Linked DNA regions of Homo sapiens: regions 1, 3, 4, 5, 6 and 7 are each linked to region 2. Evidence: promoter capture Hi-C in 16 types of primary human blood cells and fetal thymus (Javierre and others, 2016). All regions are on one chromosome and are shown on one strand. Each heading gives the region's core, a stretch centred on a gene start or on the middle of the fragment in contact. The rest is flanking DNA. Distances are from core to core; before and after follow the strand shown. Region 1 holds the start of GLS2 (glutaminase 2). Region 2 holds the start of RNF41 (ring finger protein 41). Region 3 overlaps RBMS2 (RNA binding motif single stranded interacting protein 2). Region 4 has its middle 8.1 kb from the start of SNORA105C. Region 5 overlaps GDF11 (growth differentiation factor 11). Region 6 overlaps RBMS2 (RNA binding motif single stranded interacting protein 2). Region 7 overlaps PMEL (premelanosome protein).

Region 1 (3,078 bases), core at 1-2,500, 270 kb after region 2:
CCTATTGGTGTCCCTTACGACAGAGACTCGAGTAGTGGTGAGGTAGTGTTGTGTCAGAGACTCGAGTAGTGGTGAGGTAGTGTTGTGTCAGTCTGGCTACTTTACTGATGGTGTCCATGTTTCTGAGTGTCATCAGGGAGATGGCAGCGACGAGGGAGATGGCCCATTTCCTGTTCCTGCTACAGTAGAGCAGGGGCTCTTTGGACAGTGTCTATGCTGGCCCTCTGGGGAGGACAAGATTTCCTGCTCAGCACCGTCTGGGTCTCAGAGAAAAAGGCTCAGCCACCAAGTGTGTCCTAGGCGGTGGGGAAGATAAAGGTTTGGCATCCTGGGTGGAAGAAACACCCAAAGGAAGAGAACGTTTTAGATTCTGGAGCCTGGGCAGCACAAATAAAGGCTCTGACTGGCTCTGGTTTGGGAAATCTGCGTCTTAAAGACCTTTCCTCCATTACAAATATTCTCCCCATTCAACAACCAGTTTGGAAATTCCCCCCCATTCTGCTGTTCAGGGAGCACTGCTACGCACACACCCAACACTTATGGACGTACCTGCGCACCAATAATACACGCGCATCACACATTACCTGCCGAGAACACGCAGAAACACAACACACAGACCCCAGTACACCTGGACCGGAGGCAGGAGGCTGTTCCACATCCACGCATCTCCTAAAATACACACGAGGACTAGGGAAGGTGAGGACTGGCGGCGTGAGCCCGGCCCTGCACTCAGACACGTGAGCCAAGCAACACTCGGCGCGCATCTGTGATCCGGGTTAAGTGCGCACCTTGGACAGGCGCCATCCCCAGGACCCGCTTGCCCGAACGCACTCCTAGGCAGACGGCAGATTACCGCCCGAGCGCGGCGCACCCAAAGCCCCACATCCAAAGGAAAAGGCACCGAGGGCTAGTGAGCGAGGAGAGGGGAGATGAGCGGCGCTGCCTTGGAAGGGCACTCGGGAACTAGCGAGAACCACAGTGGGAGTGGGGGCAAGCCCGTCCCCTGCCCTGTCCCAGGAGCCTTACTGATCCTGGTGCTGCGGCTGGTGGCTGTGTGGCGTCTCTCTGCCCTGCGCCGCGGCCTCACTGAGGTGGTGCCGGACGCCCCCGCCAAGGAGGGGGCTCCGGCTCGGGTGACCCCAGCCTCCTCGCCCGCAGTGACTGCCAGCCCGGCTCAGGGCCTTCTGCAGAGCCTTCATGGAGCGCATGCCCCAGCAAGCCTCCGGCTCTGCAGGTGCGCCCGGGACCTCTAGCTGTGGCTGGGAAGGAGGGGCGGAGCGAGCGAGACAAGGTGCGGGGGAGTTCTGTGAGGGAGCGCTGGACCTGGAAGACGGAGAATGTGGGCCCGGTGGGTGGGGCTGGGGCTGGGGCAGGAGAAGGGGCCTGCCCCTTTAAAGCTGGCTCCAGGGTTAGGGGCACCCTCAGGACAGGGGCTAGGTGAGGAGCGTTGGGGATGAAGGAGAACCCGGGTGGCTTTCTAGTGGGTGGAGAGAGGGCGGTGCCTGGGAGCTGGAATGGACAATGCCCAGGTCCAATCACTGAGGAAGCAAAAACATTGAGGCGGGGAAAGGGTAAGGTTGCCCAATGAGAGCAAGACGGTGGGACCTTGCGACAGTCTGCGGATGCTTCCGCGTGGGCCCGGCGAGCGCGGGTATCCGCGGATGCTGAGGGCGGGAAAGGCGAGGACAAGCTGAGGCGAAGCCGGTGGGGGCGGGAGGCGCTCCCCGGGAACACCGTGGGGCTGCGAATGATGGAGTTGTCGTGTAGAGAGGAGGGTGCTGCCTCGAGAGAGGAGGCTAAGTAAGAGTGAGCCCAGTTCAGGAGGTCACTCAGAGAGCCTCGACCTCCGAAGGCCAAACCAGCGCCCAGTAACCCGGCGGGTAGCGTGGCGCGCGGCCGACGTGCGGTGGTGCTGAGTGGAGAGTAGGATGACTGCTGGGTACCCCGGGCAGAAGCAGCCGACCAGCACCTCAGGGAGGCATTGGGCGGCGGGAAGGTCGCTCTGGCGGTTAGGAAGCCTGGGTTCCAGTTTGTGTCCCTCTACCATTTATTTGGTGTAGGACTTGTTTTCAAATCTGGAAAGTTAAGACATTAAAATAAGTTGGCACGCAGAAAAACGTTTTATAAACCATGAAGTGCTCCCCACATTTTTCCTATTTTAATTGTTTGCCCTTGTCCTCCTCACGGGCAGAAAAGAGGCGATATACAAAAAGCATTTTGAAATCCAAGAACATTCAGGACTTTTGCCATTTGCAGCTAGAACTTTCACCTTGTATCTCGGCAGCGCCTAACCCAGCATCCATATTTAGTAGGGACTCATTATGTAAATGATAGCTATTATTGAGTGCCCATGGTGTTCCAACCGCTTAGTTTCTCTCTCCCTCTTACCAGAGACCTACAAAGTAGTTATTAGTCTCAATTTGAAGGTGAGGAAACTAAGACTAGGAAATTAAGAATTCTCGCATAAGGTAACCCAGCTAGTAAGTACCAGAACCAGAAATTAGACCCGTTTTTTTTTTTTAACTACAAGTCTCTCCTTCATGCAGCCCTTCTCAAAAATTAAGCATTGAATTGAATTATCCCGGGAGAAATGACCCCATCCCTAAAGGAGGTATTTTATGTGGAAGTATTATGATACAGTACTGGGAGTCTTTTCCTTGTGATAGTTCTGGCTGTATCACAAAATACTAGTTTTTGTTTGTTTGTTTTTGAGACGAAGTTTTGCTCTTGTTGCCCTAGCTGGAGTGCAATGGCGCAATCTCGACTCACTGCAACCTCCGCCTCCTGGGTTCATGCGATTCTCCTGCCTCAGCCTCCCTAGTAGCTGGGATTACAGGCGCCTGCTACCTCGCCCAGCTAATTTTTTGTATTTAGTAAAGATGTGGTTTCGCCATATCGGTCAGGCTGGTCTCAAACTCCTGACCTCAGATGATCCGCCCGCCTCAGCCTCCCACAAGTGCTGGGATTACAGGCATGAGCCACCGTGCTTGTCCCATAGTTTTCATTTTTGGATTAAAATGAGTTTCAAGGGTACTCGTGGGAAAACAAGTACTGAAACCAGTCAGGTGTGTTCTGTGG
Region 2 (3,406 bases), core at 549-3,048:
GGCTGGGTGCAGTGGCTCATGCCTGTAATCCTAGCACTTTGGGAAGCCGAGATGGACCAATCACCTGAGGTCAGGGTTTTGTTTTGTTTTTTTTGGCGGGGGGTGTGGGGAGACAGAGTCTCACTCTGTTGCCCAGGTTGGAGTTCAGTGGTGGAATCTCAGCTCACTGCAACCTCTGCCTCCTGGGTTCAAGCAATTCTCCTGCCTCAGCTTCCCAAGTAGCTGGGACTACAGGTGCATGCAGCCATGCCCCGGCTAATTTTTTATATTTTTAGTAGAGACGGGGTTTCACTGTGTTGCCCAGGCTGGTCTCGAACTTTTGAGCTCAGGCAATCCGCCCGCCTCGTCCTCCCAAAGTGCTAGGATTACAGGCGTGAGCCACCGCGCCCGGCTACAGTCAGAGGTTTGAGACCAGCCTGGCCAACATGGTGAAACCCCATCTCAACTAAAAATACAAAAAATTAGCCAGGCATGGTGGCAGGTACCTGTAATCCCAGCTATTCAAGAGGCTGAGGCAGGAGAATCGCTTGAACCCAGAAAGAGGTGGCACTGAGCCGAGATTGTGCCACTGCACTCCAGCGTGGGTGACAGAGTGAGACTCCGTTTCAAAAAAAAAAAAAAACAAGAATGCAAAATAAATTTAGAGTACTGAGAGTCGGAGAGGAAATGCTTGACAAAAGCTTGTTCCTTCTTTTTACTAGAAGGCAGGGCTAGCCACAGGTCGGTCGGCTTAACATTGCATCACTCACATTCCCTACCACTAGTCCACTACATTCTTATTTGGGGCAAAACTATCAGCCAACAACACTATCAGTCTCTTGCCCTATTGTCAGACTCTAAAACCCCTGTATAGAAAGGGATAACACTATCACGGGCCAGTCCCCAAGAACAGTGGCCTCAATAACAGCCCCACTTGCTATTAAATGAAATGAAGTTTCTGAACGGGGAAGCAGTCTGTCAATCCCTCAAGCAAAACGCCTTCACCCCTCCTGGCTTTCTGCTCTTCCTCTAGCCCCCTCCTCCCCACTACCCAATTTCCCAAAGTCCTGAGTTAGGGAAGGCCTTCCAGTGTGTGGTGTGTGAACCCTGCCAGAGAGCCAGGCTGCAAACCAAGCGCAGGGATGTGAAGAATGTGAGATTCCTTCATGGAGGGCTGGGAGGGGGTGAGGAGCGGGGAAGGAATGAGAGGACAAGGCTGCCAACGACAAGGCATGGGAGAGGAGCCAAGCTATGGCGCTTCGAGGGCGGGGGTTTAGGTTCCACCGCCCCTGCCCAGGCTGGCCCCCGGAATGCTCCCTTCCTCCCCTTCTGGCCCGTCAATCATTGCCCATTTAAACACCACGCTGTTCCCCCAGTTCTGCAGGTGCCGGTCCTCCAGCTAGCCCCGGCCCCCTCCCGCACTTCTCAAAGCTCCCCTATTCCAATGGACCTTCCCCAACAACCCGTTCTCCAGAGCCCCCTTCTCACCTCCCGACTCCTCGCCAGTGCTGCTCCCTTCTCACATTTTTATCTCTACCACCATCCCTCCTCCTGAACCCCAGTTATTTCAACCCCCCGCCCCAATACCCCTGGGACATCACCTCCTCCCCTCCCACACCCTCTTTTAGGTGGAAGATCGCGCAGGCGCAGTACGCACCGCCCTGGAAGCGGCCTGGAGTCTCCGCAACCTGACCCAGTCGGAGCTGAGGCCGCAGCGGCCACAGTACTGCCCTGGTGCCGGGTCCCAGCCTCTCCCGGGAAGGGAAGGGAAAGGGGAAGGAGGGGAAAGAAGACTCCTACCACTCGTCGCCGCCTCAGACGGATCCTTTGCCCCGCCCACCGCTGCTACGCAACCCGGCGGAAGCTCGTCACCAAACCCCGCCTCTTTGTTTAACTCAGCCCCTACACCAGCAGCCAGGAGCTGCCTACGAGGAGGGACGAAGGCTGGCCAGGCCTCCACTCTAGACAGGAAGTCTAGTCTAGAGTCTATATGGTCCCAGCCAGGACTATGTAGCCATTTAGGAGGGAGAACTCTATGTTCTTCCCGGCAAAAACGTGTGGGCCTGGCCGGCCACGCTTCGCTTTGGAGGGGTGCAGGTGACTTGTGTCTTAGAGCTGACGCAGATTGTTGCGAGATCATTGCGGAGAGGCAGGCCTGCAGCGTGACCTGCTGCGGGTCCGGCCCCTCTCCCTTTTCCAGAGCCCTGGTCAGCATCCCAGAGCTTCGTAACCCCTTGACTCCTGTCATGGGAATGGATATTGCAGTTAACAAGGCGGCCGCGGGGTGGGGAGTGAGGGAGTCTGACCGCAAAGCTTAGATCTGGGGTGCTCAACGGGTTGTCTGCCTCTCTCCCAGGCGCTCTCCTGCCGTATCCACGATGGCTCCCCGAACACTTGTGGAGTTCCCTGAAACACCTAAGAGGAAGGAAGGGAGAAAAAATTTCCCTCTTCCTGAGTTGGGGTTTGATTTCCTTAGCTTACAACACCGTGGTGTTGGGGATGTGGGCGGTAGAGAACGTGGGATCCAAGGGAAGTCAATGTGGAGCCTAAAGAGCTCCGTGAGCAGATAAGGGATTAATTAAGCAAACCAAGGCATTACAATCACATGACTTCCTAGACTAATCTGGTATTAAATAGTATGGTATTTATTGTGGACATTGGCTAAGCAAATGCTAATGCACATTAATACACACATACACACATATCTTTATGTAATTTGTTTATACACAACAATACAGAGCTAGCTACCTTTTGTGGACAATTTGACAGGTCCCAAAAGGAACTAAAGTTTCAGGCCTCCTTTCTGCTGTCTTCTAGCGGGACTCTGAGATAAGTAAGATAAGAGTAGTATGGCCGGGCGCGGTGGTTCATGCCTTTAATCCCAACACTTTGGGAGACCGAGGCTGGTGGATCACGAGGTCAGGAGTTTGAGCCCAGGCTGGCCAACGTGGTGAAACCCCGTCTCTACTAAAAATACAAAAAAAGTAGCCGGGCGTGGTGGCGGGCGCCTGTAATCCCAGCTACTCGGGAGGCTGAGACAGGAGAATCGCTTGAACCCGGGAGGCAGAGGTTGCATTGCAGTGAGCCGAGATCGCGCCACTGCACTCCAACCTGGGCGACAGAGCAAGACTCCTTTGCCGGGGTGGAGCGGTGGGGCGGGGCGGGGAAGAGTAGTATGGCCAGGTGCAGCGGCTCACGCCTGTAATCCTAGCACTTTGGGAGGACGAGGTGGGCGGATCCCTTGAGGTCATGAGTCCGAGACCAGCCTGGGAAACATGGCGAAACTGTCTCTACAAAAAAAATACAGAAATTAGCCGAGGGTGGTAGTGCGAACCTGTAGTACCAGCTACTACGGAGGCTGTGGTGGGAGGTTGCAGTAAGCCAAGATTGCACCACTACACTCCAGCCTGGGTTACACAGCGAGACC
Region 3 (3,297 bases), core at 100-2,599, 350 kb after region 2:
TTCAATGACTTGTTCAAGATCACGCATAGCTAAAAAGTGGCAGAACCAGGATTTGAACCAAAGCAATTTGGCTCAGGTTGACCTTCAATTAAAGGGGTCAGTGGAGGGGTGATGGAAATAGGATATCAGAGAAGAAAAATGTCTATAGTTTTTTCATAGGATCAGTGGTGTTTTCCAAAAGAAAATAAGTAATGGCAAGGATTCTTTTTAGTCCTCAGGGAATTCCAGCCAGAGCTCTGCCTCTACACACTCTTTCGTGTGGACATTGCCAAGCTTCTTTCCCCAAAAGACAGTCATCTCTTTCCAACTAGTGTGTGAGTCTTAGCTGGGAAAGAAGAGAGAAATGTGTTGGTATTATAGGGACTACAGTTACCTTATTTCTTTTAGGTACCTTTGGGGAGGATGGGTTTATATTAAGTGTGGCATTTTTAACCCATTTCTTTTTTTTCTTTTTTTTTTTTTTTGAGATGTAGTGTCGCTCTGTCATCCAATCTGGAATGCAGTGGTGCCATCTTGGCTCACTGCAACCTCCACCTCACAGGTTCAAGCAATTCTCCTACCTCAGCCTCCCAAGTAGCTGGGACTACTGGCGTGACGCCCAGCTAATTTTTGTATTTTTAGTAGAGATGAGGCTTCATCATGTTGGCCAGGCTGGCCTCAAACTCCTGACCTCAAGTGATCCTCCAGCCTCGGCCTCCCAAAATTCTGGGATTACAGGTGTGAGCTACTGCACCCGGCCCCCGTTTCTTTTTTATTTTTATGAAGGTTTGAGTAGGAAAAGTTAGATCATGGAAAGGGCATGGATTTGTTGAGATGTCTGAATCTCTGTCCTATTCTTAGTCTCTGCCCCCCAGATTATTACTTTGCATTTTCCTCTCCCTTAGATATGGCAAGATTGTTTCCACTAAGGCCATACTGGACAAGACCACAAACAAATGTAAAGGTGAGAGAACAACTGTCCTTGGTGTTGGAGAGCACCAGTAAGTGAGGCCATCCCTTGACACTGCCCTTTACTGCTGAGAGTCCTGAGTCTACAGTGTCAGCGAGAAGTCCCTGAAGTTTTTAGGCTTAAAAGATTAGGAGATATTTAGATTCTTTGGTGACCAGATAGCTAGAGCTGAAAATGCTGTTTAGGGGCCCCAAGGCCAGAAGACTGTACAAAACACCTTTGAGTCTACTGAGCTTATTTTGGACTTTGTATTTCCCTGGATGAGGTGGTAGAAGTGGGTAAGTGAGATTTTCTTCTGCTTAGCAAAGTCATGTAAATGCCTTTTTTGGGGAGTGTTTTGGTGGGTGTTATTTTCTGAGGGTGAGTAGTTTTATTGGGGTTTTGAGCAGTTCTAGATAGAGCTGGAAGAGTGGAAGGAAGAGAAAGGGCTATAAGCTGGGGTGGTGAGGGTCTTCTTCCAGCAGGTGGCTGGTGGTCTGCTCTGGAGAGGCTGCATTCCCTACATGCCTAGCATTTCTGGGGTATATCAAGAAAAGAGGGGAGTGAATTCTTTTAGAGGTGTAGGGGGGCTTTGGGTTATTAGCAGAGCCTAGTTCCTGAAACCTCAAATTTCTTAAGGGGGAGGGAGAAGGGCAGGGACACCAGAGTAGCTCATTGCCTTGGCATTCTTAGCCACAAAGTAGATCACATCTCAGGGTTTGAGGAGCATGTGGATAACTACCTGAAACCTCTCAATAGCTCTTTCTCCCTCCCATTTCTGTTACATGGATCATAACTCTTCCTCTGTCTCCTGAAAAGCCTGGACCTCTCTGTTCCTTACACCTCCCACTTCCTAGTGATGCTGTTTCCTCTGTTCCAGGCTATGGCTTTGTAGATTTTGACAGCCCTTCAGCAGCACAGAAAGCTGTAACAGCACTGAAGGCCAGCGGTGTACAGGCACAGATGGCAAAGGTAAGGGTACTACCCCATGTCTGTTCCTCCAAGGGGTTTGTGGTTAGCACCAAAGTTCCAGTTCTAAGGTTTCCAGAGGGCTTAAGAACCATGAAATTGAGTGGGCAAGGGCTATCCGTGGTGCTTTCTAGACAGTCCATGAGCACCCCTGGCTGCTGGAGGAAGATGTATTCAAAGTCTATGGCAGGTAGCTCTATCAGCTCTCTTCCTTTCACCAAGTTATTGGCAGCAAGAAAGGTAAGGTGGCCTCTTCCGGTACTCCTGCTGCTTCCCCGTGTTCCCTATATTATTCACCCTGGCCCCACTTCCCTACCAGACAGCTTGTGGTGGTTTTGCAACATTCTCTGAACAAGTCAATTGTGCAACTCAGAATTTCAGAACAATGCTCTCCACCTCCTAATGTTGTTCCCCATACGGGCTGGGTAGTGGGCTGGGGAGGCAGGAGGGAAGCCACATCAAGGGAGGAAACTGTCTCTTCTCAGATCTGTCTGAAACTGTTGTCTTCACCTAGACTACTAGAAATCTAGAAGCTTTTCTCTCACTTCTTCTGTTAGGTGGGATTGTCTCCTTGCCTTTCTATTTTATTTTATTTATTTATTTATTTTGAGACAGCGTCTCGCTCTGTCGCCCCGGCTGGAGTGCAGTGGCGCAATCTCGGCTCACTGCAAGCTGCACCTCCCGGCTTCACGCCATTCTCCTGCCTCAGCCTCCCAAGTAGCTGGGACTACAGGCACCCGCCATCACCTCCAGCTAATTTTTTGTATTTTTAGTAGAGACAGGGTTTCACCGTGTTAGCCAGGATGGTCTCGATCTCCTGACGTTGTGATCCGCCCACCTCAGCCTTCCAAAGTGCTGGGATTACAGGCATGAGCCACCACGCCTGGCTGTCCCTTTGCCTTTCTGAAGCTGTTATGAGTATTATACATAGAGCTTGTGAGGCAGGCCTGCTAGACACCTTTTCTGTAATGGTTAAAGAAAAGGAAAACAAAAGGAAAAGGCAGAAGAGGATTAAGGTTGCTGGTGACCACTGTTTAGGGCAGAGTGACTGCTTAAATTCTTAAAAATACAACTATTGGATGATATTGCCATTTTGCACATTCTGTCCCCTGGAAGGGCTCTCCTACCTCTTCTTCCAGGAGTAAAACCCTCTGACAAAAGCTCAAAGGTTTAGGAGCCTTCAGGGTCCTAGGAGACTGTAGCTTTCAGGGCTCCGTGGTGACACAGTGAACTCTGCATCTGGCTCTCTCCCTGTTCCCTTCTCCCCTCCTCCTGCTCTTCCTCCATCAGGGAGTGAACAGGCATTCCTACTTAGAGGATTCTGCGTGGCTGGAAGAGAAGTGGGGAGGGGCTGCTCAAAACAAGCCAGCCAAGGAGCAAGGCAGTCTGAGGGAATCCAG
Region 4 (3,321 bases), core at 751-3,250, 280 kb after region 2:
TTTATCTGTTGGATATTAAAATTTTTAAGTTTTATTATTATTATTATTATATATATTTTTAAGAGACAGGGTCTTGCTCTGTCACCCAGGCTAGAGTGCAATGGTGAGATCATAGCTCACTGTAATCTCAAACTCCTAGACTCAATTGATCTTCCTGCCTCAACCTCCTAGGTAGTTAAGACTGCAGGTGAATGCCACCACACCCAGCTAATTTTTGTATTTTGTGTGTGTGTGTGTGTGTGGAGAGGGGATCTTGCTGTGTTGTCCAGGCTGGTTTTTCAAATTTCTAGCGTCAAGTGATCCTCCTGCCTCAGTCTCTCAAAGCGCTGGGATTACAGGTGTGAGCCACTGTGCCTGGCCAGATATTAGGCTTTTAATATGTGTTTTTAGGAACTTTTCTTTTTCTTTTTCTTTTTTTTTTTTTTTTTTAGACGGAGTCTCACTCTGTCGCCCAGGCTGGAGTGCAGTGGTACGATCTCGGCTCACTGCAAGCTCCGCCTCCCGGGTTCACGCCATTCTCCTGCCTCAGCCTCCCGAGTAGCTGGGACTCCAGGCGCCCACCACCACGCCCGACTATTTTTTTTTTTTTTTTTGTATTTTTAGTAGAGACGGGGTTTCACCGTGTTAGCCAGGATGATCTCGATCTCCTCACCTCGTGATCCACCCGCCTTGGCCTCCCAAAGTGCTGGGATTACAGGCGTGAGCCACTGCGCCCGGCTGGAACTTTTTGGAAATTAGCTCTTTATGAAATGAGTTGCATACATTCTCCCCTCCCTGCTAGTTTATCATTTGACTTTGGTTTTCCATTTGTGGATTTGTTTGCCATGTAGAAATGTTTTCTCTTTATGTGGTCAGGTCAGCTTTCTTTTTTCTTTTCTTCTTTTTTTTTTCTTTTTTTGAGACCGGGTCTCACTCTGCCACCCAGGCTGGAGTGCAGTGGCGCCATCATGGCTTACTGCAGCCTCGACCTCCAAGGGGTTAGGTGATCTTTCCACCTCAGACTCCTGGGTAGCTGGGAGTACAGGTGTACACCACCACGCCCAGCTAATTTTTTGTATTTTTTTTAGAGACAGCGTTTTGCCACGTTGCTCAGGCTGGAGACTTACCATCTCTACAATGACAAAAAAATCCATTGTTCAGCTAGAGGTTCACATGTGATCCTTTATTTCTCCTGCTTCCATATCCTTTACATCCGATAATGGGACTCAAATCCATCCACTTCTCATTCCCATTGCTACTATCTTAGTGAGGCTTCTTAATTTAGGTCTCCCATCAGTTTTACTCCCTTCCATTCGTTACAGTATAGCCACAAGTGGTCTTGCAGAAATGCAAATCTGATTATGTTGCTTTTTAAATATAACCCAGTGGCCAGGCGCGGTGGCTCACACCTGTAATCCCAGCACTTTGGGAGGCCGAGATGGGCGGATCACGAGGTGAGGAGATCAAGACCATCCTGGCTAACACGGTGAAACCCCGTTTCTACTAAAAATACAAAAAATTAGCCGGCCGTGGTGGCGGGCGCCTGTAGTCCCAGCTACTCGGGAGGCTGAGGCAGGAGAATGGCATGAACCTGGGAGGCGGAGCTTGCAGTGAGCCTAGATGGCGCCACTGCACTCCAGCCTGGGCGACAGAGCGAGACTCTGTCTCAAAAAAAATAAAATAAAATAAAATAAAAAATAAATATAACCCAGTAGTAATTTCCCAACTCTAACATAACTTGGAATACAATTAAAAGTGAGTGGAGAAAAACAAATGAGAGATGAGGACATACAGTTAGCAAATGTAGATTACTCTTGATTATGGGGAAAACTAAGAATATCTACAGAAGAACATAGGGTACAGGGAAGGGCTTTTGTTTATTTGTTTTTTATGTATGTTTTCATCTCTCTTTTAATTTTAATTTTTTTTTTTGAGACGGAGTCTCGCTCTGTTGCTCCAGAGTGCAGTAGCACCATCTCGGCTCACTGCAACCTCCACCTCCCGGGTTCAAGCGATTCTTCTGCCTCAGCCTCTTGAGTAGCTGGAACTACAGGCGAGCACCACCACGCCCGGCTAATTTTTGTATTTTTAGTAGAGATGGGATTTCACCATACTGGCCAGGCTGGTCTCGAACTCCTGACTTCATGATCCACCCACCTCAGCCTCCCAAAGTGCTGGGATTACAGGGGTGAGCCACCACTTCTGGCCCTATCTTGTCTTTTTAAAAGGTCATCATGTATCCACATGTGGAGGAGGAAAGCCAGTAGAGATATCAAGGTTGAAGATAGCAGATAAATATGATATGCTAAGAATGCAGAGTGAAATAATGAGGTAGAAAACTTAGAGTGGTAAATGTTTAGAACAGCTATAGTAAAGACTAGGAGAGGGCACTAACTCTAGAGTGTTGTAGGAATGCTGGGAAATACTGAGATTTTGATGAGATTAGAGATTTTGTACTTTAAATACTGACATAGAAAAAAATATATACAGATTTTATGCGAAGTACTATTGAAGTACTTTTATGTGGCAGTACTTTGAAGACTTCAGTCTTCAAAGAACAGATTTTCCAAGAAATAAAAAGAGAAGGAACACTTCACAACTTGTTTTGTGAAGCTATTGTAAACTTTAAACCCAGAACTAGACAAGGACAGTATAAGAAAAGTAAGATATAGACCAATTTTATATAAAGAAATAAATGCAAAAGTCATAAAATATTAGAAAATTGAACACACACACGTGGCAAAGTCGTGTTTATCCCAAAGATGCTAGAATGGTGTAATATTAGAAAACATGTAGTCGCACCACATCAACAGATTAAGAGAGAAAAATCTATATGATCCTCTCAAGTCATTGTAGAAAAATTATTTGATAAATGTCTTTCAAGCAAATATTTTCAAAGCTCTTAGCAAATGAGACAAGAAAAGGAATGTCTAGACCAGGCATCATGGCATATGCCTATAATCCAAGCACTTTTGGAGGCCAAGACCAGCAGATCACTTGAGGACAGGACTTGGAGACCAGCTGGCCAACGTGGAGAAACCCCATCTCTACTAAAAATATAAAAATTAGCTGGGCACGTTGGCGCATACCTGTAATCCTAGCTACTCAGGACACTGAGGCATGAGAATTGCTTGAGCCCGGCAGGCAGAGGTTGCAGTAAGCCGAGGTTGTGGCCACTGCACTCCAGCCTGGGTGACAGAGGGAAACTCTGTCTCAAAAAGAAAAGAAGTGCTGGGCACAGTGACTCACACCTGTAATCTCAGCACTTTGGGAGGCTGAGGCAGGTGGATCATGAGGTCAAGAGATCGAGACCATCCTGGCCAACATGGTGAAACTCCGTCT
Region 5 (3,361 bases), core at 599-3,098, 470 kb before region 2:
AGGTAGAGGGAGGGTTATGTTTAGAGCTTAGTAGAGAATGCGAAAATAGTAGTAGCTTCTCAATAAATGTTGGTTTGTTTGTTTCCTATTTTCACATTCTCTAGTTAATGCTCAGCACTCATGTGAAGCAAGAATTATTATTATCTGTATCACACTGAGAAGTTTGGTGAGTAAGGTTAGATAGTGGTTAGTAAGGAATCAGGCAGTGATTAAACCCACTTCAATTATAGCCAAAGAACAGAATTTAGATGCCAGGAAGAACTTTCAGGCACTTGCCTGTATAATTTAAGATTGGGAGTTTAGGGAGTTCATTCACCATGTATTTATTGAGTGCTGTCTAGCACTATGGGAGGCACTGAAGCTACAATGGTGAGCAAAACAGACACAGTATGAATAACAACAGTGTCCACTCTCATGGAGATTAGTACCTAATGGCAAGAAAATAGACAATTCTTATGCTGAAATTTGTAAAGTATGCTATTTGGGATGTTGCTTGTCACTCCCCATCTCACTAGTAGCTTCCCTATCCCAGCTACTTCTGATCTCTGAATTCTCACCCCCCAAACCCTACTCCATTGCACCATCACTGAAGCTCCAGCCAGTAAAATAACTGGACTACCAGGGCCCTGGGACCTCAGAGAATAATCAAGAAAAAAAAAAGCTATAGAGACTTTGGGTATCATATCCTGAATATATGAAGTTCATTAAGCACTTTCTCCTCATCTCCCTTAGAAGGTCCTCTTTCTCCCAGGGTGGGGGTGGGGAAGAGCTGACAGGACACCCTAAGTCCATCCTGATTTTGCAGAACTCAAGACATGGGGAGGATACTTAAAGGCCTAGACTTCCTAACCCTGCTTATATGGCTCTGGAAGCTCATTCCTGATTCTTCCTATCTAGAGTCAGGATAGACATATTCTGTCCAATGGAGACATGTTGTAGGACACTCCCAACTGACTTAGGAAAGGCAGTGAAGAGGAGCTGGAATGGAGGCAGAGGCAGATATTTATTGAGAATCATCTATTAGACCCAAGAAGGATCAATTTAAGGTCCAGAGCAAGGGGAAATGGGTCAAAATGTAAAGTTGGGATGTTCAAACTTTGTAAAGACCTACTGGCACTAGACTGAGAAGTCAAAGGAAGCTCAGGGGAGAAAAAAGGCATTGTAGTTAATCTGGTGTATTTAATATTATTTCTGGTGCTTTAGGCAAATAGGAGGCAACACCATGGAGGTAATTATTCCTTTCCTCAAGAGCTGGGGGCAGTCATGGTGATGATGATGGAGCAGCAGCTGAAGAAACTTCTTAAGAGAGAATGGGGAGACAGATGTATAGGAAGTGCTTGGATAGTTCCATTTTGCTGGGTGTTATTCCTAATGGGAGTGAGGCAAGAAGCCTAGATCTGAATTCTGGTTTACATAATGGGATAAATTTAGCTCATGCTCCCTATCTGGACCCTGGGTTATCCCCTCTCTGAGGCCATCTGTGTTATTTTGTGGGGGAGGGATGTGCCAGGCTCTACCTGTCCAGCAGATAAATCAGAGCAGATAGGGGAAAGGTGATGGAAGGGCAGCAGGTGTGATAAGAGGTATGGCTTCTATAAAGAGCTTCAAAGATTCAGAAAATGTTGGAGCCTTATATGCTGGGAAAAGTTGGACAGTAAGGATGGTGGTGGATGAATAATTTTGCAGGTTATCTGGTAGACAGGAACCTATATATTAGGGCAAATGGATTAGGAAATGGACACAGATCAGTAAGGCCTTATAGGGCCATCATCCTAAAGAGGAAGTGCTGTTTTAGGTACCGGAGACATGGTATAAGATAGGCATGGGAGAAGGGTAAAGAAGAACTGGAAAATCAGGCTGAGAAGTCCAAAATTGCCAGTGCCACCCAGGACTACTGATCCCCTACACAAACACCCTTTGCTGATGCTGTGCCCTTCTCTCTTATCAGCGGACCCAGCAGTACAGACAGATGGCAGCCCTCTCTGCTGCCATTTTCACTTCAGCCCCAAGGTGATGTTCACAAAGGTACTGAAGGCCCAGCTGTGGGTGTACCTACGGCCTGTACCCCGCCCAGCCACAGTCTACCTGCAGATCTTGCGACTAAAACCCCTAACTGGGGAAGGGACCGCAGGGGGAGGGGGCGGAGGCCGGCGTCACATCCGTATCCGCTCACTGAAGATTGAGCTGCACTCACGCTCAGGCCATTGGCAGAGCATCGACTTCAAGCAAGTGCTACACAGCTGGTTCCGCCAGCCACAGAGCAACTGGGGCATCGAGATCAACGCCTTTGATCCCAGTGGCACAGACCTGGCTGTCACCTCCCTGGGGCCGGGAGCCGAGGGGCTGGTGAGCAGGGGGCCTGAGGTGGTGGATATGTGTAACCTGGCCCTGAGGAGATAGGGTTACATTGGAAAAGGTAGACAAGGAATGTGAAGGAGGTTGGGGACCAGCATTACTTCTCTGGGGTCAGCAGCTGATTCTAGAGGAGGAGGTGAGGAGTGGGGTGGCAACTATTACTTCTCAAGGATCCAAATCAGACAACAGCTGAAAACTGGATTTGAAGGTAAAGGTGTCAGTTAATGGAAGAGCTGTGAGAACAAAAAAACTGGCTGTTGAGGCGTTGGGCCAAGGGGCTGACAGGGATCAGGTTGCCAGAAGAGTAAGAATTAGAGATGGTGAGTTGAAGGAGAGCTAGCTAGCTGGCAAGAAAAGTGGGCAAAAGATAAATTCTGGGGGTGGGAGCAATGGAAAAGCTGAGAAGTCAGCAGTCTCTATTCTGATGCCCCTGGCAGGTGGGAAAGGAACAGGGAAGAGGAACTGTTCAGGACCATATCACATTTCTTTCCCCTCTCCCTGACCCTCAGCATCCATTCATGGAGCTTCGAGTCCTAGAGAACACAAAACGTTCCCGGCGGAACCTGGGTCTGGACTGCGACGAGCACTCAAGCGAGTCCCGCTGCTGCCGATATCCCCTCACAGTGGACTTTGAGGCTTTCGGCTGGGACTGGATCATCGCACCTAAGCGCTACAAGGCCAACTACTGCTCCGGCCAGTGCGAGTACATGTTCATGCAAAAATATCCGCATACCCATTTGGTGCAGCAGGCCAATCCAAGAGGCTCTGCTGGGCCCTGTTGTACCCCCACCAAGATGTCCCCAATCAACATGCTCTACTTCAATGACAAGCAGCAGATTATCTACGGCAAGATCCCTGGCATGGTGGTGGATCGCTGTGGCTGCTCTTAAGGTGGGGGATAGAGGATGCCTCCCCCACAGACCCTACCCCAAGACCCCTAGCCCTGCCCCCATCCCCCCAAGCCCTAGAGCTCCCTCCACTCTTCCCGCGAACATCACACCGTTCC
Region 6 (3,222 bases), core at 388-2,887, 370 kb after region 2:
TCTCCTCTGCCTCACAGAACTCCTGATTCTGTCTTCTTTCTCTCTCTATATATATATTTTAAAATGTTTAAATGGCTCTAATTTTTTGTTTTGAATTTTGAATTTACCTTTTGGAGTTCTTCTCATGTGAATCTACTTGTTAGATTGTATTAATGAGTGTTTCTGGTTTGGGCATGGGAAGTGATGGGGGCCTGAAGTTATTTTGCAGTGGCTAATGGCACTGAGGAATTTCTTTTTTGGTGCATTTGGTTTACACTCATTTCCTCTCCTAATTGTTAGTTCATTTGTAACAGTGGGTGAGTGTTTGGAGGAAAGGAGGGAGAAGAAAGGAGGGATACTGTTTCTCCCATGAAATAGTCTAATTGGTTGGGTTGATGGCAGAAGGAAACATAGGGGAGCCTTCCAGCTCACAGCCAAGGGTTGGGCTCTTAAACACTATGCCTAGTGTTTTCTGAATGCTGTCTTCATGGAGCCCAGCTCTTACTCTCTTTGTACTTTACATCTCACCCCCACTCATTACAGATGCTCATAACATTCTTAAAATATTTTAGTACTTGGCATTTTTCTGTTTTCAGTCAGCTAGAACACACTAGAGTCCTTTCCTCAGATGGCATAATCCTTTATAGGCTCTGAGCCTGCCTAGCCATCTCCTATCGGTGTTATTACTCCTCATCTCAGGCTCTGAGATGATACTCAGACCCTAAACTGATTGGACTTTTTGGAGGAGGGTGCCAGTAGAGAGGTCAGGAAGATGTGGAGATGATGATGGAGAGAGATGTTTTTATTTTATTTTATTTTTTCAGACAGAGTCTTGCTCTGTCGCCCAGGCTGGAGTGCAATGGCACGATCTCGGCTCACTGCAACCTCCGCCTCCCAGGTTCAAGCAATTCTCCTGCCTCAGCCTCCCATGTAGCTGGGATTACAGGCACCCACCACCATGCCCGGCTAATTTTTTTATTTTTAGTAGAGATGGGGTTTCACCATGTTGGCCAGGCTGGTCTCGAACTCCTGACCTCAGGTGATCTGCCCGCCTTAGCCTCCCAAAGTGCTGGGATTACAGGCGTGAGCCACCGCGCCCGGCCTTTATTTTATTTTTTAGAGATGGTCTTGCTGTGTCACCCAGGCTGGAGTGCAGTGATGCAGTCGTAGTCTACTACAGTCTTGAATTCCTGGGCCCAAGGGTTCTTCCCACCTAAGCCTCCCAAGTAGCTGGAAGTACAGGCACATACTACCAAGCCCAGTTCGTTATTTTAAGTTTTTGTAGAGACAGGGGTCTTACTATGTTGCCCAGACTGGTCTTGAACTCCTGTCAAGTGAGCCTCCCACCTCAGCCTCCCAAAGTGCTATGATTACAGGTGTGAGCCTCCATGCTTGGATGAGATGTTGTTTTTAATGTTTTTGGTTTTTTGGTTTTGTTGTTTTGTTTTTTTGAGACAGGGTCTCACTCTGTGGCCCAGGCTGGAGTGCAGTGGCACCATAATGGCTCACTGCAGCCTCGACCTCCCAAGGCTCAGGTGATCCTCTTGCCTCAGCCACCCCTTCCCCGGCCACCAAGTAGCTGGGACTATGGGCTTGTGCCACCATGCCTGGCTAATTTTTTTATTTTTAGTAGAGATGGGGTTTTACCACGTTGGCCAGGCTAGTGTCCAACTCCTGACCTCCAAACAGCTAATTTTTGTATTTTTAATAGAGACAGGTTTTCGCCATGTTGCCCAGCCTCGTCTCGAACTCCTGGGCTCAAATGATCCACCCACCTCGGCCTCCCAAAGTGCTGGGATTATAGGCATGAGCCACCACACCTGGCCTTTTCAGTTTTTTTATTTTTATTTTTTCTTTGAGACGGAGTCTCGCTCTGTCGCCCAGGCTGGAGTGCAGTGGCGTGATCTTGGCTCACTGAAACCTCCATCTCCTGGGTTCAAGCAGTTCTCCTGCCTCAGCCTCCTGAGTAGCTGGGATTACAGGTGCCTGCCACCATGCCTGGCTAATTTTTGTATTTTTAGTAGAGACAGGGTTTTGCCACATTGCCCAGGCTGGTGTTGAACTCCTGGGCTCAAATGATCCACCTGCCTTGGCCTCCCAAAGTGCTGGGATTACAGGCGTGAGCCACTGCACCCGGCCCTTTGTAGTGTTTTTAACTAAAGAATTTGTAGAGTTGCCCAGGCCAGGAAGCCTGGTGGCTCTAAAGGGTAATAGACCTTGTCAGTAACAGATAAGGAGTGGTAAGAGGACATTACTCATATTGAAGATGAAGACCAGACTTTGCTGCTTCACAGGCCATGCGCTGGGTTGGGCCACTTCAGCTCCACTCCATTCGTTTTCCTTTCCTAACTTGACAATCAGCTCACTCACCCTCCCTTAGTGCCTCCAGTGCCTACTCCTGTCACTCCAATGTCAACCCATTGGGAGTTGAGGCCTGTCACTCCAATGTCAACCCGTGGGCTGTTACTTTGCGTCATATGATGCTGTGAGAGGCCTTGCTGGAATGTCCTAGGAATCCCTAGTAGCAGTGGCTATTAGTCTTCTAGAAAAGAACTATTGCTGCTGCCTTGTGCACATGCCCCACCTTCTGGGCAAGTGGCAGCATTGCGCTCATGAGGGGCTTTGCATTCTTAGCCAAGGGCAATAAACTGGGTGGGTGATCTGGCCCAAACTTGCCCCTAGGCTCTGCTAGCCCTGAATCAGCAGGCTTCAGAGACGAGGGTGGGTGTTATAAAAGCCAGTCTGTAAAGGGTAAATTCCAAATCTTGTGCCTTGTTATACCAATCCTTCCTGATTCCCGTTTAAACCAACTACTCTATTTCTGTGCTGCCTACATTTTCAATCCTCCCACGCATTAGCAAATTCCTGAAATTTCCTCATTTGGTAGGCCTTCCATAGGAGTCAGCTATGGACTTCCATAGGAGTTGGCAGCTAAAACCAGACTGTGAGCTTCTGTCTCCGTTCTGATTTTTGCTGCACCTCCCAGGGGACAGTCCCCACATGATTACAAAAGCCAGGTGCCCTCATCACCCGTTACCCCTGACCTGTCCACTTGTTTTGAATAAACCTTCATTCTCCAAGCAGATCCCCAAACTTCCTTGTCCTTGTTACACGTCTACCTCACAACCTCACAATTCAACAACAGGTAAATACCTGGATTCACTGATTTCTTTACTGTCCTTCTCTGAGGGTTGGGAAGGTGGGGGCTAGAAAAGGCTCATAATTTTTAAACTCTTGGGAATT
Region 7 (3,184 bases), core at 365-2,864, 260 kb before region 2:
CTGGCAGGCTGGGCTGGGTAGCACAGGCTGGCACAGCCGCTGGGCAGGGGGCTGGCACCCTGGCGATGAGATCTCCATGCAGGCTTCCTTGGGCAGCCTGGAAGAAGTGTCAGCATATATAAGGGGATCTGGGAAGGGACACTAAATGCCAGAGAGCGGAGAAACAGTCAACCAAAGAGTTACCAGCACACTAGTGAGACACTCACCCGCCTTGGCAGGACACAGTCAGCTCAAATGCATCCCCCTCACCGGACGGCACAGCCTGCAGGATCTCGGCACTTTCAATACCCTCTGCAGAGTTGCAAGCTTATCAAATTAGGATTCCTCTACCTGGCCTCCCCAAAAGCCCAGAGACAGAAAAGCCCCAGGGCTGCTCCACCAATCCCATCCCTGTGCTTTCAAATGAGGACTCTGGCATTTGGGTATTCTTCCTATCTAGGTGAGTAATTCCTCCCAAGGTGTGCTTCCACTGACCAGCCCTAGGTAGCACACAGCTGCCTCCATCAGCCACCAAAGTAGGCAAGACTCACGGACAATGTCCAGGGTGACGGAAAAGGAACCATATCGATACAGAACACAATCCAGGGGGACTTGTCTCTTCACCAGCCTTAAGGTGGCTGTACCATCCAGCAGGGGGCCCAGGGAACCTGGCAGGAGAGGATCAAGGAGGCAAGATCAAGAGACAGATGACTCATCTGGAGGCAGAGGCCAAGCAGGCATTTTTTCAGGTTGAACCAGAGTTACTGGATTCTGGAGTCACAGGCTTGGAATCAGATAAGACCTGGGAAACCTTATTCTATAGATAAGGAAACTGAGGCCCAGAAGAAGAAAATGACTCCTCCAGAGTCACAGTTAGGGGTGGCATTGGAGTTTTAAAAAATCCTCAAATGTTTATCACACCCCACACTATGTCAGGTCCTAGGCTAGACATTCAACGTGTGTTAACTCATTTAAGCATCACTGTTTCATTCCTCCCTTTTTGCTTTGGGATGGGAATCCAGGGTTGGGAAATGGAAGGATCAGGATCTCGGAATCTGGGAAGGATTTTCGTGCATTTATGCTTGAACAGAAAATGAGCTATAAATATTATATAAATGATCACAGTCTGTTCCCTGGTCTCGCCAACCGTTCTCAGCAGTAGAGAAAGCAACAAGCTCTTTCCTCATGGCCTAGGGGAAGACCTTGGTTTCCTGAACTCCAGACCTATTCCATGTCATTAAGAGAGACTGGAGGGCTTTATAGCCAGGCCAGTGAGAACTCTGAGGGGACCATAGTGCTAAGCAAAGGATTGGGTAACATCTGAGTCCTGGGTAAGACTTACAGAGTAGAGTAGGGTACCCCACCTCCGTGAACCTCATTCGCACTGATACTCTTACCTGTAATACTTTCCGTAGACATGATTGAGCTGGCATCTGGACCTTCAGGCTCAGGGATAGGTAGCTCTCTAGCTGTGGTCTCCACCCACTCTGTAGTTGTTACCTGTGCAGCTGTGGTTCCAGAAAGCACCACAATTGATACCTCTGCAGGTGTCATACCTGTAGCCTCTGGAGTTGACATCTCTGCCAGTGTGGTACCCATGACCTCTGAAACTGGCACCTTCTCAGGTGTCATACCTGTGCTCTCTGCAGTTGGCATCTGCACAGGTGCAGTGCTTATGACTTCAGTGGTTGGCACCTGCACAGATGTGGTTCCAGAGGGCTCTGCAGTTGGCGCCTGACCAGGTGTAGTACCCACAACTTCTGTAGTAGGCACTTGGCCAGCTGTGGTGTTAGGGGCCTCTGCAGTTGGCCTGTGCCCATCTGTGGTGCCTGGAACTGGGGAGGAGCCACAGGAGGTGAGAGGAATGGCAGCCTGCAGGACCACCTGGGCAGTGACTGGGCCAGGCTCCAGGTAAGTATGAGTGACCACAAGTGCCCGAGAGATCAGGGTTCCACTACTGTCTCCAAAGTCCCAGGTGTAGGAGAGGTCAGCTTCAGCCAGATAGCCACTGGGGTCATGGAGCTGGAGGGCAAAGGTCAGAGGCTGATTTCTCAGGAAGTGCTTGTTCCCTCCATCCAAGGCCCGCAACTGGGACACGCTCACGGAGAAAGGCACCTGGTCTGGGATTGGAGCCAGAAAAGGTGAGAACCAGGCCTGAGCCACAGCTTCTCCTTTCACAGCCACACCCTCCAACTCCAAGCTGACTGGCTGGCCCTTCACTGGCACTAAGCCTCACATTTCTCTGCCTAGGTCTTCCTGGCCCTTCTACTTTAAGTTTGCACAGCATTTCACCTTTCTCCTTTCCAGTCCATCCAAGCCTCCCTGCCTTCTCTTGCCCTACAACTGGCCTTGCCCCTTCCTAAACCCTTACCAGTAATGGTGAAGGCTGAGCTGGAATGAGCAAGAGGCACATAGCTCCGGGATCCCCGGCGATGGTAGACAGTCACTTCCATGGTGTGTGTGCCCAGCATTGCCCTGCCTGTCCCAATGCTCAGCCCAGACACTGGGCCCCCTAGAACTTGCCAGTATTGGCCTGAAGTTTTTGGAATGAAAAGCAAGGAAGAAGAGATTACTGGTCAAAGGGGACTGAGGGACAGGCTTCGAAACGGCACTGGAGATGGGAGGTCAGGAAGTATGATTACTTCTGAGGGTGTTTGGAAGGCTGTGATATGGGGGGACAGGGAAGGGGTCCTAATGAGGCATTCCATGGGGTAGGACTACAATTGAGGAAGAGTTGCCAGAAAGAATTATGATAGAGTTGAAGGGGGCTAGGTGCTAAGAAAGAGAAAAGATCTAAGAGGAAAATGAAGATTAGAGAAAATCACAGAAGTTAAGGTGGAAGGGGCGGCCAAAAGAAAGGTGATCAGGTAGAAAGAAGTAAACACAAGTGTGGATGATAGGCTGAGAAGGGAGTCCCTCACCCCAGGTCTTCCAGACATAAACAAAGCTTCTCTTCTGAGACCAAGAGCCAGATGGGCAAGGTCCACCATCAGGGAAGATGCAGGCATCGTCAGTTTCCTGGGGATACACTGGCTGTCCTCCCCACACCTGGCTCCCTGAAAGATAAATACAGAGTCACTCTCAAACCCTGGCATTCTTTTTTGTATATCAAAACCCCTAAAATTGCTCCCAGGGTATCAGAGAGGGGCTCTGGGAATATTCCCTAGCTAGAAAGTACATTCTCCATGATATAACCATTTGGGGT

Evidence for each region. The method cuts DNA at HindIII sites, captures the fragments that hold promoters and counts their contacts. A CHiCAGO score of 5 or more calls a contact.
Region 1: the fragment with the promoter of GLS2 here is called in contact with the fragment with the promoter of RNF41 in region 2 in 1 of 17 cell types (activated CD4 T cells); the score reaches 5.2 in activated CD4 T cells.
Region 3: a contact is called between a fragment that was not itself captured here and the fragment with the promoter of RNF41 in region 2, in 4 of 17 cell types (M1 macrophages, erythroblasts, activated CD4 T cells and 1 more). The highest score is 7.4, in M1 macrophages.
Region 4: a contact is called between a fragment that was not itself captured here and the fragment with the promoter of RNF41 in region 2, in 1 of 17 cell types (activated CD4 T cells). The highest score is 6.0, in activated CD4 T cells.
Region 5: a contact is called between a fragment that was not itself captured here and the fragment with the promoter of RNF41 in region 2, in 3 of 17 cell types (fetal thymus, naive CD8 T cells and total CD8 T cells). The highest score is 6.6, in fetal thymus.
Region 6: a fragment that was not itself captured here is called in contact with the fragment with the promoter of RNF41 in region 2 in 1 of 17 cell types (fetal thymus); the score reaches 5.8 in fetal thymus.
Region 7: a contact is called between a fragment that was not itself captured here and the fragment with the promoter of RNF41 in region 2, in 2 of 17 cell types (naive CD4 T cells and activated CD4 T cells). The highest score is 5.4, in naive CD4 T cells.

What each region holds. Positions count from the first base shown.
Region 1 is chr12:56,486,911-56,489,988 of GRCh38, forward strand. It overlaps GLS2 (glutaminase 2), which reads right to left and starts at 1,251. Exons shown (of 18, transcript NM_013267.4): 1 at 1,027-1,251. The coding sequence starts at 1,208. It overlaps LOC124902944 (a long non-coding RNA gene), which reads left to right. Exons shown (of 2, transcript XR_007063331.1): 1 at 1-42; 2 at 77-422. RefSeq lists an enhancer at 788-1,007 and a silencer at 1,168-1,597. The HindIII fragment of the contact is 16,217 bases long and covers 1-3,078 here.
Region 2 is chr12:56,220,124-56,223,529 of GRCh38, forward strand. It overlaps RNF41 (ring finger protein 41), which reads right to left and starts at 1,799. Exons shown (of 7, transcript NM_005785.4): 1 at 1,637-1,799. It also overlaps a transcript of NABP2 not described here. RefSeq lists enhancers at 1,721-1,770, 1,757-2,691, 1,991-2,210, 2,692-3,406, 3,042-3,336. The HindIII fragment of the contact is 1,612 bases long and covers 679-2,290 here.
Region 3 is chr12:56,568,091-56,571,387 of GRCh38, forward strand. It overlaps RBMS2 (RNA binding motif single stranded interacting protein 2), which reads left to right. Exons shown (of 14, transcript NM_002898.4): 3 at 885-943; 4 at 1,809-1,900. Among named protein-coding and RNA genes, the nearest start is that of RBMS2, 48 kb to the left of the region's middle. The HindIII fragment of the contact is 2,157 bases long and covers 272-2,428 here.
Region 4 is chr12:56,503,118-56,506,438 of GRCh38, forward strand. No RefSeq gene overlaps it. Among named protein-coding and RNA genes, the nearest start is that of SNORA105C, 8.1 kb to the right of the region's middle. The HindIII fragment of the contact is 5,999 bases long and covers 1-3,321 here.
Region 5 is chr12:55,746,638-55,749,998 of GRCh38, forward strand. It overlaps GDF11 (growth differentiation factor 11), which reads left to right. Exons shown (of 3, transcript NM_005811.5): 2 at 1,949-2,346; 3 at 2,865-3,361. The coding sequence ends at 3,245. Among named protein-coding and RNA genes, the nearest start is that of GDF11, 5.2 kb to the left of the region's middle. RefSeq lists enhancers at 1-381, 382-885. The HindIII fragment of the contact is 9,248 bases long and covers 1-3,361 here.
Region 6 is chr12:56,591,729-56,594,950 of GRCh38, forward strand. RBMS2 (RNA binding motif single stranded interacting protein 2) reads left to right here. Exons shown (of 14, transcript NM_002898.4): 14 at 1-3,222. Among named protein-coding and RNA genes, the nearest start is that of BAZ2A, 37 kb to the right of the region's middle. The HindIII fragment of the contact is 7,914 bases long and covers 1-3,222 here.
Region 7 is chr12:55,955,573-55,958,756 of GRCh38, forward strand. It overlaps PMEL (premelanosome protein), which reads right to left. Exons shown (of 11, transcript NM_001384361.1): 4 at 2,901-3,035; 5 at 2,351-2,512; 6 at 1,377-2,099; 7 at 531-647; 8 at 207-291; 9 at 1-97. Among named protein-coding and RNA genes, the nearest start is that of PMEL, 8.9 kb to the right of the region's middle. RefSeq lists an enhancer at 1,333-1,834. The HindIII fragment of the contact is 2,620 bases long and covers 305-2,924 here.